Regions from separate parts of the Homo sapiens genome. Here region 1 is linked to region 2. Evidence: promoter capture Hi-C in human tissues and cell types (Jung and others, 2019). All regions are on one chromosome and are shown on one strand. The core of a region is centred on a gene start or on the middle of the fragment in contact, and the rest is flanking DNA. Distances in the headings are between cores, read along the strand shown.

The links. Contacts are between HindIII fragments. The study calls those that stand out against the background at their distance.
Region 1: a fragment that was not itself captured here is called in contact with the fragment with the promoter of LRTM2 in region 2 in 4 of the 25 tissues and cell types used here (IMR-90 fibroblasts, dorsolateral prefrontal cortex, mesenchymal stem cells and 1 more).

The regions. Positions count from the first base shown.
Region 1 is chr12:2,253,934-2,259,996 of GRCh38, forward strand. The region is part of intron 3 of CACNA1C (calcium voltage-gated channel subunit alpha1 C); the gene reads left to right. Among named protein-coding and RNA genes, the nearest start is that of CACNA1C-IT3, 13 kb to the right of the region's middle. RefSeq lists enhancers at 1,508-2,009, 2,010-2,509. The HindIII fragment of the contact is 3,079 bases long and covers 199-3,277 here.
Region 2 is chr12:1,818,871-1,824,946 of GRCh38, forward strand. LRTM2 (leucine rich repeat transmembrane protein 2) reads left to right here and starts at 1,695. Exons shown (of 5, transcript NM_001039029.3): 1 at 1,695-1,944. All of the region lies in intron 26 of CACNA2D4 (calcium voltage-gated channel auxiliary subunit alpha2delta 4), which reads right to left. RefSeq lists an enhancer at 1,265-2,011. The HindIII fragment of the contact is 8,239 bases long and covers 1-4,582 here.

The sequences.
Region 1 (6,063 bases), core at 488-2,987, 440 kb after region 2:
GTAAGGGATGCGTACTGAGTGGGAGAAGCAACAGTACTGGGATCCAGGGGAGGGCTGGATGGGAAGGGCTCAGTCATGGATAGGACTGAGGGTGTGCTGGTGAGCCTGGAAGCCATCACTGGGTGACCAACCTCACCTGGGCACTTCTTAGTTTGGATGTGCCTTATTTAAAGTAAAACTTGACACAGTCCAGAAAAACTCGCAATGCAAAAACAACTCACTTTTCTGGAGCTTTACTGTGTGTGCCCAGCACTGTGCTCACCACTCGAGAGCCCCTAGGCAGGCACCCTCCCTCCAGTTGTTCTCAGGGAGTGGGGTGGAGAGTATCAGTACAGAGGAGAGCCTCAAACGACCCCAGACTCTGTCTGTCAGTATGCTTCTGGAGGATGTAGGCTGAGTCTTATCTTCTCAACCGCCAGTTGTCTGTAGTGGCCCTTCCATTTCATGTCTTCCTTAGACACATACTCCAGTCTGTTGTTTTGAGTGTTGGCTGTGAACTCTGTAACCCTGTATTTTCTGTTTTCCTCTTAGTATGAGAACGAAGGTGTGGGCCCGGATTGCCCCATTACTCTTGTGTCCTGTGCACCTTTTGTATCGTGCTGCGGCAAACTGGCACAGGGGATGTCAGCTCCGCACCCTCTGCTGTGGATTGTCCAGGGTCCAGGCTTCCCCTTCCTACTGCTCACCCCTGTCCCCTTTGCTGTTAACACCTGCCCGTGGGATAAGGGAAAAGAAAAAAGCCACTCAAACTACTCCATTGTGAGATTTGCTATGGAGTCAGGGCTGAAGTGGGGTTGGTTGACTTGCAGAATCTGTGAATGGGGGACGATATATGTTGAGAAAGTGCCTGGGTGATTCTGATACGTCCCATCTACACTTTGAGAACTACAGGTTCATTACCACTGCCAAGAAAAAGATCTTTTCATATCCCCCCGTCCTCTCTTCACTTGGATGGCAGTTGAGTCTCTGAAAGAGATTCATCCCGAAGGTCTTTTAAGTGAAGAGAGGCAAAGCTTAGCTTAGTATTTCCTTTCTGAAGAGCACATACCCCTGTGTAAAATTGAGGAGCAACAGCCTTAAATGGAAGCAGCTGTGATTCCCCGCCCCTGTGAAGGGGCTGTGGCCCTGCAGATGCCACGGCTGTGGATGCGTAGAGCTTGGGTACCCTCCCTGGCTTCATGGCTGACCTGCTGTGTGACCTTGGGCAAGTCAGATTTCCTCTCTGTTTGCCATCTGCAAAATATGGATACAGACCCGTGCTCCCTCCTGGTTTTACTGAGGTACTGTGAGAGCCAGTGAAATCACGGTTATGGGATGCTCAGCATTCTGCTGCAGAAAAAAAAAAAAAAAAAACCTAGTTACTAGGAAAGCACCATTCCCCAGGTGTGGGAGTTCTCAGTACCTGTGTGGAGTTTGCTAACAGACCTGGGGTCATTCGGGGTGTGACAGGCAGGCCCTCTCTCCTAGATCCAGGTCCATTTACTAATGTCCTTGCCCATCCATGCCTGCAAGAAGGAAGAGATGTCTGAACTGCCAGGAGGTGGTGGCTACAGATGGTCCCTGGCACAGCAAGAAGGCAGTGCCAATCAAAGGAGGTCGGCCTCTTCAATTAGAACTCTGAGCAGATGGGGCTGAGGCAGCCAGAAGGGGCACTTCCCAGTTTACTAAGTGTGTGACAGTAAGCTGGTGGCCTTCAGAAGACCAGGAGGGTCACCTGGTTCATTTCCTTTCTGGAAGGAAGGGCAGTGTTTAGGATAAGTCAGATGAGATTCCTCCTCATTGGACAGATAATAAGCTTTATTGTGAGTTAAGCAATATGCTTGGCCCTACGGATATCACATTAAACAAAATAGACCTGACCCTGACCTTACTAGTTTACAATCACACGATCCTGACCTTACTAGTTTACAATCACAGGATCCTGACCTGACTAGTTTACAATCACACGACCCTGACCTGACTAGTTTACAATCACACGACCCTGACCTTACTAGTTTACAACCACACGACCCTGACCTGACTAGTTTACAATCACACGACCCTGACCTGACTAGTTTACAATCACACGACCCTGACCTGACTAGTTTACAATCACACGATCCTGACCTGACTACTTTACAATCACACGATCCTGACCTTACTAGTTTACAATCACACCTCCTGTTTCTTGCCACTTGCACACAACTCAGGGATGGGGTAGGAGGAGGAATATCATAAATGCAAATTCCTGTGCCTTACACTGGAGCTACTAGATCAGACTACCTGGAGGCTAAGCCCAGGAATCTACATTTTTAACAAGCTTCATAGTTCAGCCTTGCACATATTAAATTTTGAGAACTGGTTACTTCTCCATCAATGCATGGGGTAATCAGTCACCTTGGGCACATTGGTGTCTTAAAAATGACTTAAACACATAATTGGAACTGTTTTGCTAAGTCTAGCCTGTGTCTACGTTGCTAGAAAAGCCCTTTTTCCCCTTATTCTGATGGTATAGAAGAAAACAACTGCTTAAATCAAATGAATTAATGTGTTGATTGAGCTTTCATTACCTGTCTAGCTTCATGCTGTTTGGAAAATAAATATAAAAGCTATAATCCTGGCCCCTGATGAGCGTACAGGGTTCTTGAGTTGATAAAACACACCAGTTAACCAGTTAGAGATGACGAGAAGATGGTGCAAGATTAAGAGCCAGGACGTAAAGCAGATGGCGCGTTTCCAGGGGTAGAGAAATGAGGACATCGGCAGGTCAGCATTGCAGCCACATCCTTTCTAGCCATCCTCAGATTCCAGCCTAATGATCAGTTGTAAACTCCTAAAGAACTTAAAAAAAATCCTGGAAAAATTCAGGAGATTCAGGGTGTAGTATAGGAATCTGTTTGATTAAAACACTCCACAGGTGATTCTGATGGGTGTTTCCAGGTTTGGAAACCAGCATGCTACCTTTTAAAATAGTAAATGGATTAGTTATCTCTTTTTTAGAGGGGGCATGAGAACAACAGTTCCTTTATCCATTCTTCTATTACACCAGATATGTTACAGTTGCACTCAAAAATCGTGGTGACTCAACACAACAGAATGTAAACCCAATCAGGACGGGGGTGGCTCTGCTCCATATTGTAGGGGACCAGGGCTTTGCTGTCTTCGTTGGTGGCTTTCCAGGCCTCCCTGGGTGTTAACATCCAGCACTCAGACAGTCACAGAGGAATGAACACAGTTGTTTGTAATGGCGGCCAAGATCGTCCAGGCCCGGAAGTTGTGACTATCACTTTCACTGACATTTCACTGGCCAGAAGTCAGCCATGGGCCACACCTGTCTCCAAAGGAGGTTGAGAAATGTAGTCCAGCTGAGTACCCTGGAGGACGGGACCAGGCTGTGGTGGGACAGTTCAGTCTTCTCTAGCACAGCGGTCTCCAACCTTTTTGGCACCAGGAATCAGTTTCGTGGAAGACAATTTTTCCATGGAGGACCGAGAGGGGATGGTTTTGGGATGAAATTGTTCCACTTCAGATCATCAGGCATTAGATTCTCATCAGGAGCATGCAACCTAGATCCCCAGCATGCACAGTTCACAATAGGGTTTGCTCCCATGAGAATCTAATGCTGCTGCTGATCTGACAGGAGCTGGAGCTCAGGCTGTAATGCTGGCTTGCCCACCGCTCATCTCCTGCTGTGCAGCCTGGTTCCTAACAGGCCATGGACCGGTACCTGGGGGCTGGGGACCCCCGCTCTAGCGTGTTCCCTTCCTCTCCAAGTCTTTAAGCATTTTCATTGATCTCTTCTCCTCCAGATTCTCCCAGGTTCTCAAGCAGTGAGGTTCCAAACTAAGGTTTAACTCTCTAGTCTTCAGAATGTTCTTTTCTAACTGTTAGAACTGCAAAGACAGCCTTGAAATGGTATATTCTTTATACCTGTTGCCTCCACTTCACTTGGTCTTACTGTTAGGTTTAACCTTAGGAAATCACTGATATTTTTTGACCTACAGAAGCGGCATTTTCATACAAGTGAATGCTACACTCTCAACTTGATTGAAGAGCACCCTCAATCTGCCTTCAGCACGTGCACTCCCACTCTGCAGTAGGCAGAGGTTTGAGAACCAAGCCAAAGGAAAGAGAAGAGGGAGGCAGAGTTTCTTTGTACTACATCTCATCACCTGCTGTGTTTGGGGTCTGCCCTGTCCCACCATAGTAAAGCTCATATCCCACCTCTTCCTGAAACCTTAATAATGACATCTTATTTCTGGTTATTTGCCAGAAGCTTTCACACACATGATCTCATTCATTGCTTTGAGGAATTCGCTTGTTTCCGCCTCTCAATTTATGAGATAATGAGAGTTATGTAATAATTCCCTTCTTCAGTTTAACTGCCAGGAAACTTAGGCCAGCATTTGTGATTAGTCAGAATAATTTTACTGTGTGTTTTTGGTTGGTATATATTGTTTTAAAATATGTATTTTACTCATTAATTTTTGAAAACTCATTTTTTCCTCAAGTTTTTTTTTTAAATGTGAAATTTTAAAAATCTCAAGTTCTTAAAAAATGATGTGGGATAAAACAACTAAATTTAATTATATCATCGTCTTTGGAGGACGGTGTTATCTTCATCTTGCATATGTAGAACCTGAGGTCCATAAAAACCAATTTTCCGAGCCCATAAGGCTCCTCAGTGGGGTAACTGGGACTGGGTTTCCCAACCAGATTTAATCCAGGGCCCCTTCTGCTGTATCAATGCTGCCCTTCCAGACTGTCCCTTTCATCATCACTTTAATCTCTTCCCTCTCGATTTCAGATAACTCGTATTTTAAGACGCCTGAATATTTTCTATCTTATTATTGTAGATATGTGAGCATCAGCTCCTTAAAGTTACCGAATATTTCTGATCAAATTCTGGTTATTTTTGTCTCATTAAAATGAATATTTAAGTTTTCAGGAGAGAAGAAGGCACAAATCTCCCTTAAAAAGTAATCCATTTGAGAGATGGATTAATAAAGTAATATTATGAATTCAATATAAATTAACATATGTGTTTTCAAATTCCAAAAATAGATGAGGGAGATGGAATTACACTAGTGAGTTCAGCATGATTCCTAACCAAGGCCTTTTCATAAGTGGAAGTCTTTCACCTGGCCCTGGGGAAATCACGGAACTCAATATTTCCTTCACTTAATTGTTTTTCTTTTCCATTTAAGGAAAGGTAGCTTAAAGCAGTGGTTCTCAGAATATGGCCCTGAACCAGCTGCATCAAAATCACCTGGGAACCTACTAGAAGTGCCGATTCTACAAAAAGGAAGCTCCCCACACCCCGCCCTGCCCCACACGGGACCCAGCAGTTTGTGTTCTAACAAGCCCACCAGGTTTTTGTGATGTATGCTGAAGTTTGAGACTGGTTAGCTTAAAACAGCCTCTGAGAGGGGCTGCAAGCCACTCTTTATTTGGATCATAACTAAGTAGTTAAAACATCCCTGAGTGAATTCAAAATGCTAATGAGGAAAATTAATGTCTTTATCAAAAAAAGAAAAAAAGAACAAAACAAACCTCAGGAGACCAGAAGTAAGTTGCCTCTTTAAGAAGCAGAGCCGCTTTGAGATGTTGCAAGGGGGAGCTAAGAGCAGGGCAGAATTTTCCAGTGTCTTTTGACAGGAGGAAGTGGTTGGGGACGACTTATTTTTTTGGCCCGGAGACAGCCTGTCATTATTAGACTAAGCATTGTATCAGATCTAAGTGTGTAGCTTTCTTAATGTAATGCAGAGCAGGAGCTATACGTTTTGTTTTGTTTTTCATTTTATCAGTAAGAATGAGTGCATTACAGCCTGGGCAATGTAGCAAGACCTGGTCTCTACTAAAAAAGTAAAATAATTAGCCAGGCATGGTGGCACGTGCCTTTGGTCCTAGCTACTTGGGAGGCTGAGGTGGGAGAATTGCTTGAGCCCAGGAGGTGGAGGCTGCAGTGAGCTAGAACTGTACTTCTGCACTCCAGCCTGGGTGACAGAAAGCACTAGTAATAGCTTTGTGAGCTAAGTCCCGCTTTCTTGGGTGTTCTCATGGTCATGCTCAGAGAATCCCCCT
Region 2 (6,076 bases), core at 445-2,944:
TGCCTAGGAAAACCAGAGACCTTTGTTCACATGTTTATCTGCTGACCTTCCCTCCACTATTGTCCTATGACCCTGCCAAATCCCCCTCTCCGAGAAACACCCAAGAATGATCAATAAATACTAAAAAAATTAAAAAAAAAAAAAAAAGGAAAGGAGATGAAGCAGACCACAGAAAGCTCCTGCACAACATGAGGGTGGCCCAAAGAGAATGCCAGAGATCGGAGGAGGAGCAGGGCCAGTCCTGTGGTGTTCCGGGGAAACGTCACCTTGCAGGGGGCGTTTAAGGAAGGGGGAAGCCACCCATGGGCAGGAGAGCATTTCAGGCCCAGGGAAGAACACGCTTTCATGGAGATGGAGAAGCAGGAAGTATGTTTATGGGGAGGTGGGAGCCTCTTTTGCTTGACAGTGGGATGTGTGGGAGGCACCAGCATGAGAGGTCAGAGGCGGGACTCCCCAGAGGTAAAAGACACTGCAGCTCAAGCCTTGTGCTGCCCGGGGACCCGGCAGAACGGACAGAAGGGAGTGAGCAGGAGCATCCTTCTAGGGGCATCCTGAGTCCAGGGGGTTCTTCTACACCCACCCCAGTCCTGGCTGTGAACCCCTCCAGCAAAGCAGGCAAAATGGAAGAGGGACATAGGACACGGTGATATATCGCTAGCACGGTGCTTCATCTGTCTACAGGCAGTGGACGCAAAGGAAGGGGGATTTAGGGTTCGTGCTCCAGGCTGGTGGGGCCCTGGCTCCCCTCTAGCTTGGTCCCTGACTCACTTGGCCTTCAGATCAGCCACTTCCCATCTCTTAGGATATCAATTTTTCTGACTTGCTTTGTCCTGATTGGTTAAGAAAGAGGCCTCCAAGTTCTTGAATGACAGTCTCTTCCCTTCGCATGCCTGACCCATCACAGATAAGAGCAAGGAGCCCTGAGAAGCCAAGCTCGTCCCTGGCACTGAGAACGGTCTGCAGGCTGCTGCTGCAGGCTGCCCTGTGCCCAAACTCCCAGCCTGCCAACTCTGGCATTCTGCTTCCCTAAGTAGTCCTGGCGTCGGGTGGTCAGACCCTGAGGCTCAGTGACCTCTGCATGACCATGTGATCCCTGGCTTTGTGGGGGCTCAGGGCCCTTTCCTGTAGGGTCATCTGGCACATGGACATGCCTGTGTACCCTTCTTTCGTATGACCGAGAGAAGGGTTCGGTTTTTCCTTCTCTCAGGCAGGATGGGAGACTCTGCCTCGCATGTCTCTAAAACAGGAGAAAGACCAGCTTCCCAGGGGGGCCTCCATCGGAACAGAAGTCAGCCGCTTGCTCTGTGTCTGCGCCTGTCCCTCTTTCCCCAGATGGAGGGGAAGAGAGGAGAGAGGCACAGAAGACAGGTGCAGCCGGGGGGGTGAGGGAGAGCCTGGAGGCGCAGGATGGAAGATGGAGGTGGTGGTGAAACCGCTTTCCTCCTCCCTGTGGTCGGCAGCGATTCATCCACAGGCGCCTTTTTCCACTGAAATGTGAGCGTGGCCAGGGTGAGCGCTGCCCTCGCGGCCGGCCGTGGTGCCTCTGGTGTGCGCCTGTGTGTGCTGCTGCCGCTGTCATCACAGATGCACCCCAGCTGTCACTCCCCGCTCCACTCTGGCTCGCTGCTCGCGCACACGCGTGCGCTCTCCTCCCTCGCCCCTTTCTTCCCTCTCTCCTCTCTCTCTCTCCCTCCATCCCTCTCTTTCCTTCTCAGTTTGTGACTGACCCAGCAGCCCCGTCCCCCGTCTGCCACAAGCAGTCCACCTCCTGGTGCTGTGTGCTGCGTGCCAGCCGCTGCTCCCGCTGAGTGGAGACTCTGGCACCAGTGCCCACTGCGCTCTGCCTGCCGGTGGTGTCTGGATTTCTATAGGAATCCCAGGAGGGTCTTACTGGAGGGTTGAGAGCCACCTGATTGAAGGCGTTTGCAGTCAGAGTAAAGACGGGTGAGTACCGAGTGGCTGGTAGGAAGGAATGGAGGGTTGGTGGGGACAGGGGGTGGTCGGGGCATGGGAAGTGGGCACCGGCCATCTCTGCCCTGCAGGAATAGCTGCAGTTGCTTCCTACCTGCAGGCAATTGCTGGGGCCGAAGAAGCTGCTCGGGCTCAGGCACCTGAGCATCCCAAAGGTGCACGACACTGGGAACTCTGAGCCCACAGTGCTGGGGACAAGAGCTGTGGATTCTGCTGGGAAGTGGGGAGGAGGGCAGCGCTGGCGCCAGATGACAGTCCCGGGTGGCATAGAAACCGGTCCCTGCAGCATGGGAGAAGCAGCCAAGAGCCTTGTGCTGTCGTTGTGCCCGGCTCTGCACAGACAGCCCCAAGAAACTCGGGGGTCATGGGAAGCGGTTGGGATGGCAGTCAGGTGCTGGGGACAGGGCCAGGTCAGAGGAAGGCTTGGGGTGGAGGGTGGCAGGGAGGAGGTCCTGGATGTCAGAGGCATGGGCACAGACCCAGGTCCTGGGCCTCCCTATAGCTTGCCTGCAGGTGGCTGTCCTTGGACAAGGGTGTGGAGGAACCCTCCCCCAGATGAGCATGGGCCCACTCAGCTGTGCATGAAGCCTCCCTGGTGAGGGTGAGGCTGGGAGTGGGCAGGAGAGAGAAGTATCGCAGCCCTTCCCTGCTAGCCCAAGGGCAAGACAGGAGAACCAGGCCCGCGAGAACCTGCTGGGGTGTCCCGCAGCTGTGCACCCAGCCGTCCATCTGCAAATGGGTCAGGGAGCCTTAGTGGGGGCTGGACACTGAGCTTGGGTGGGGGGTACACAGCGGGGCCAGGCCTGCCTGGCTTCTTGACCCACACAGGGGGCATGGACACCCTGAGTAGAGCGGGACAGTTGCTCTCAATCCCCCAGACCCATTTGGACAGTGCTGGAGAGAGGAGCAGCCTGACCAGGAGTCGGAAGTTCACATTCCTGCACCTCCCTGCAGGTCTGGGGCTGGGTTCCAGTTGGCGGCCCTGTCTCTCCCCCACCCCCAAGCTGTCCACATTTCTGGGGGGTGTTGGCACCCGGCTGTCAGGGCTACTTGGGCAGTGTCTCTTTGTGACTCAGATGACACCCCTGCAGCTTAGATAACTGCCTCAGGTGGGGGCGGGGAGGGAGCCGAGCACGTGGAGCTGAGGCGGGGGAAGTCCAGCTGGTAGGGAAACCCGACAGCAGCTTCCGAGCTGCCAAGAAGAGCCCAGCTTTTCCCACCCCCACCTCCCCACCGGCAGAAAGAAAGTCTCAGCACTGCCAAAAGAGGGAGACCAGGAAAGCCAGGCCCGCGGGGAGGGGTAAGGAGAGAGGCTGCTTAAGCAGCCGATCTGGTGTCTTTGGGGTTTGACAGAAGCTTGTCTGGGCCCACGAGGAGCAAACTCTGCTCCCGTTTCCCAGGCACCAGAGCCCAGGGGCCGCCTCTGGGCTGCTATGGCCTCAGTGGGCAGTGTAGGAAGGAGGAGGGGATGGCATGTATGTGATGGTTGGGGGTGTCTGGGAGTTCTGGGGGTGGGCAGAGGAGAAAGGAGCCAGCATAGAGGCTGTCTGCCCCTCTGGTCTTCCTCCTTTTTCCCCCAGCCAAGCCTCCTGTGCCCTGCCTGGGAATACCACCCTGAGCCCAGCCCCAGGGACACCACCCTGAGCCCGGCCCCAGGGCCCAGTGGACACCTTAGCCTCCTTCATGTCAGGGACCAGCTCCCATGAGGGGCCACTCAGGAGGCTTCTCTGTTCTGCTTCCCAGAGGGTCTGTTTGAGATTGAGAATATTTGACAAGGAAACGGGGGTGCAGGAGGCTGGGGGTGAGGATGGGGCATGTGTTTTAAAATGAACCAGGAGGGTATATGGCTGTTCCAAGTACAAATATAGAGATTTTTAAAACCTGGTTCCTTGCTGCCTGGGCAGTGTGTGTGATGGGGGTGATGGGCAGCTGTCCTAGAGGGCCTGGGTGCCCAGACAGGCAGCGGTAGGCGGAGCCCAGCCTAGACGGCTGTGGCAGCCTCCCCTGCGTCCTGGCCACATGGAATCTCGGGCCGTCTTTGGCCCGGGGCTCTGGCTGGCCACTCTCCGGGCTCCCTCTCAGCCTTCCTGGGGTTGGTGGAAGGGCACGGCCCCTGCAGGCCCAGGGTGTGGGCCCAGTCGTGGCTCTGCTTCTCTCTGGCCTTCTGCAGAGTGAAGGGGGCGGCAGAGTAGGCTGCAAATGCCCCCTTTACCCCTGAGTTCTGTGACTCTTCCATGCTGAGGGGTATGGACTCTTGACCAAGGGGAGATGCCAGGGGAGTGGGCACACCCTAGGGCTAGTGTGATGGCCCAGGAGTCAGGAATTCAGAGGTGGAGGCCCGATGGGCATTATCTGGCTGTGTGTCTTGGATGCTTGATGTGGAGGGATAGACATGCGCAGAAGCCTGAGAGGAAGGGTGCGGACACCAGGTCTGTGGTGAGTGTGCTGGAGGTTTCTAGCTAGAGTCTGAGACTGATTAATTAACCTCCATCTGAGGAGAAATGGAAGGGGCAGGTGCATGGAGCGGTCCAGGCTCCTGCCGTCCCAACCTAGCTCTCTGCAGTGAGTGAGTGCGTGCGGCTGTTCCGTGCTCTGAGGGGGCCGAGTGGGGTGCTAGCAGGGAGGCAGCTCCCACTCCCAGTCTCCTGGGGTGGCTACAGCCCACTCAGCTCCGCATGTGGAACCCCCTGCTCCTACTGGGGCCTCCTGCTCCCCCATGGCCTCCCCAGCCTTGGCTCCCCCAGAACAGAGCTCCGGCCTACTCCCCTCACCTCAGCACACAACCCCCAGCCAGAAAGGTTTCTAGAAAGCCCCCCACCTTCCGTAAGATCTTGGCCTCCCAGGACTTCAAGAAGAGAGGCTGGGAAGAGGAGAACCTGTCTTGCTTGCATCTCAGTCCAGCAAGTCACAAAGCCTGTTCCTTCATCAGGGCAATGGGGACAAAAACAGCTGCCTTCTCAGCTCCAGCGGGAGTGGATCAGGCAATGCCGTGGACACTGCAGAGGACCATTCAGAGGAAAGGCGGCATCTTCCTTTCCTACCTCTGCCTTTCCTGTACAAGTAACCCCCACGTGTAAGCAGACAGACAACTGAGTTAGGAGCCAGAGAGCTCGGGCTCAGAGCCATATGATTCCATTTGCCTAACTTTAGGTGAGTTATTTCATTTCTGGTGCCTCAGTTTCCCCCATCTGCAAAATGATAGTAACAAGAACACTAACCTCAGAGAGTTGTTACAAGGATTCAGAAAACTACACAGGTTTGTGACTGTGGTAATTTTTTTCTCCCCAGGTCCCAGTTAGCTTCTCAGTGGGTCCTGGAGGCTCAGGGACAGGCCAGCATGGTCTCCTCGGTGGCCGTTTGCCCTGCTGAGAGGTGCCCGGCCTAGTCGTATCAAACTCAAATATGCATGAAAATCCCCTGGGGATCTTGTTAAAATGCGGATTCTGACTCAGTCATTCTGGATGGGCCCTGAGACTACCTTCCTACAAGGCTCCCAAGCTAGACCAATGCCGCTGGTCCATGGACCACACTTTGAGTTGCAATGGTCTACACTCAAAGCCCCATGTTTCTGGCCCTCCAGAGTTCCTCATTTGACTGCTTTGAGCTCTTCAGCCCCATTCTCCAATCCTGGCTCTCTCTGGAAGGGAGGCCAGGGACTCCGTGGAGGCCTGGCCCCTTATCTTTGGCCTCCCTGTCTCTAGGACTGGGTTAGGAGCAGGCCCAGCATCCAGAGTGGATGAGGCCATGGGACTTGCAGACAGGAGATCTCGCTGTCCCCCATGCTGCACCCTGGGTAGGGACTTCCCTCCCAGACTGTGAATTCATTTCAGCAGCTGTCAGTGCCTGCTGCGGCAGCTGCTCTCCAAGCTTCCCAATGTAGGTCACCCCCTTTCCTTAAGGAGGCTCCACTCTTCTGGGGGTGGGAAGGGTCCTTTGGATGGAGGCGTGTTGGTAGGCAGAGGCTAAGGAACTAGGGAGTGCTGGCTGCAGCCCCACCTCTCTCTAGGAGTCCCTCTGTGGTGCCACACACATATGACTGGTGTTCCCTGCAAGCTGCGCTATTTTTCCTGCTCTTGGGAAGGCCCTGGTGTCCAGGAGGAAGCCC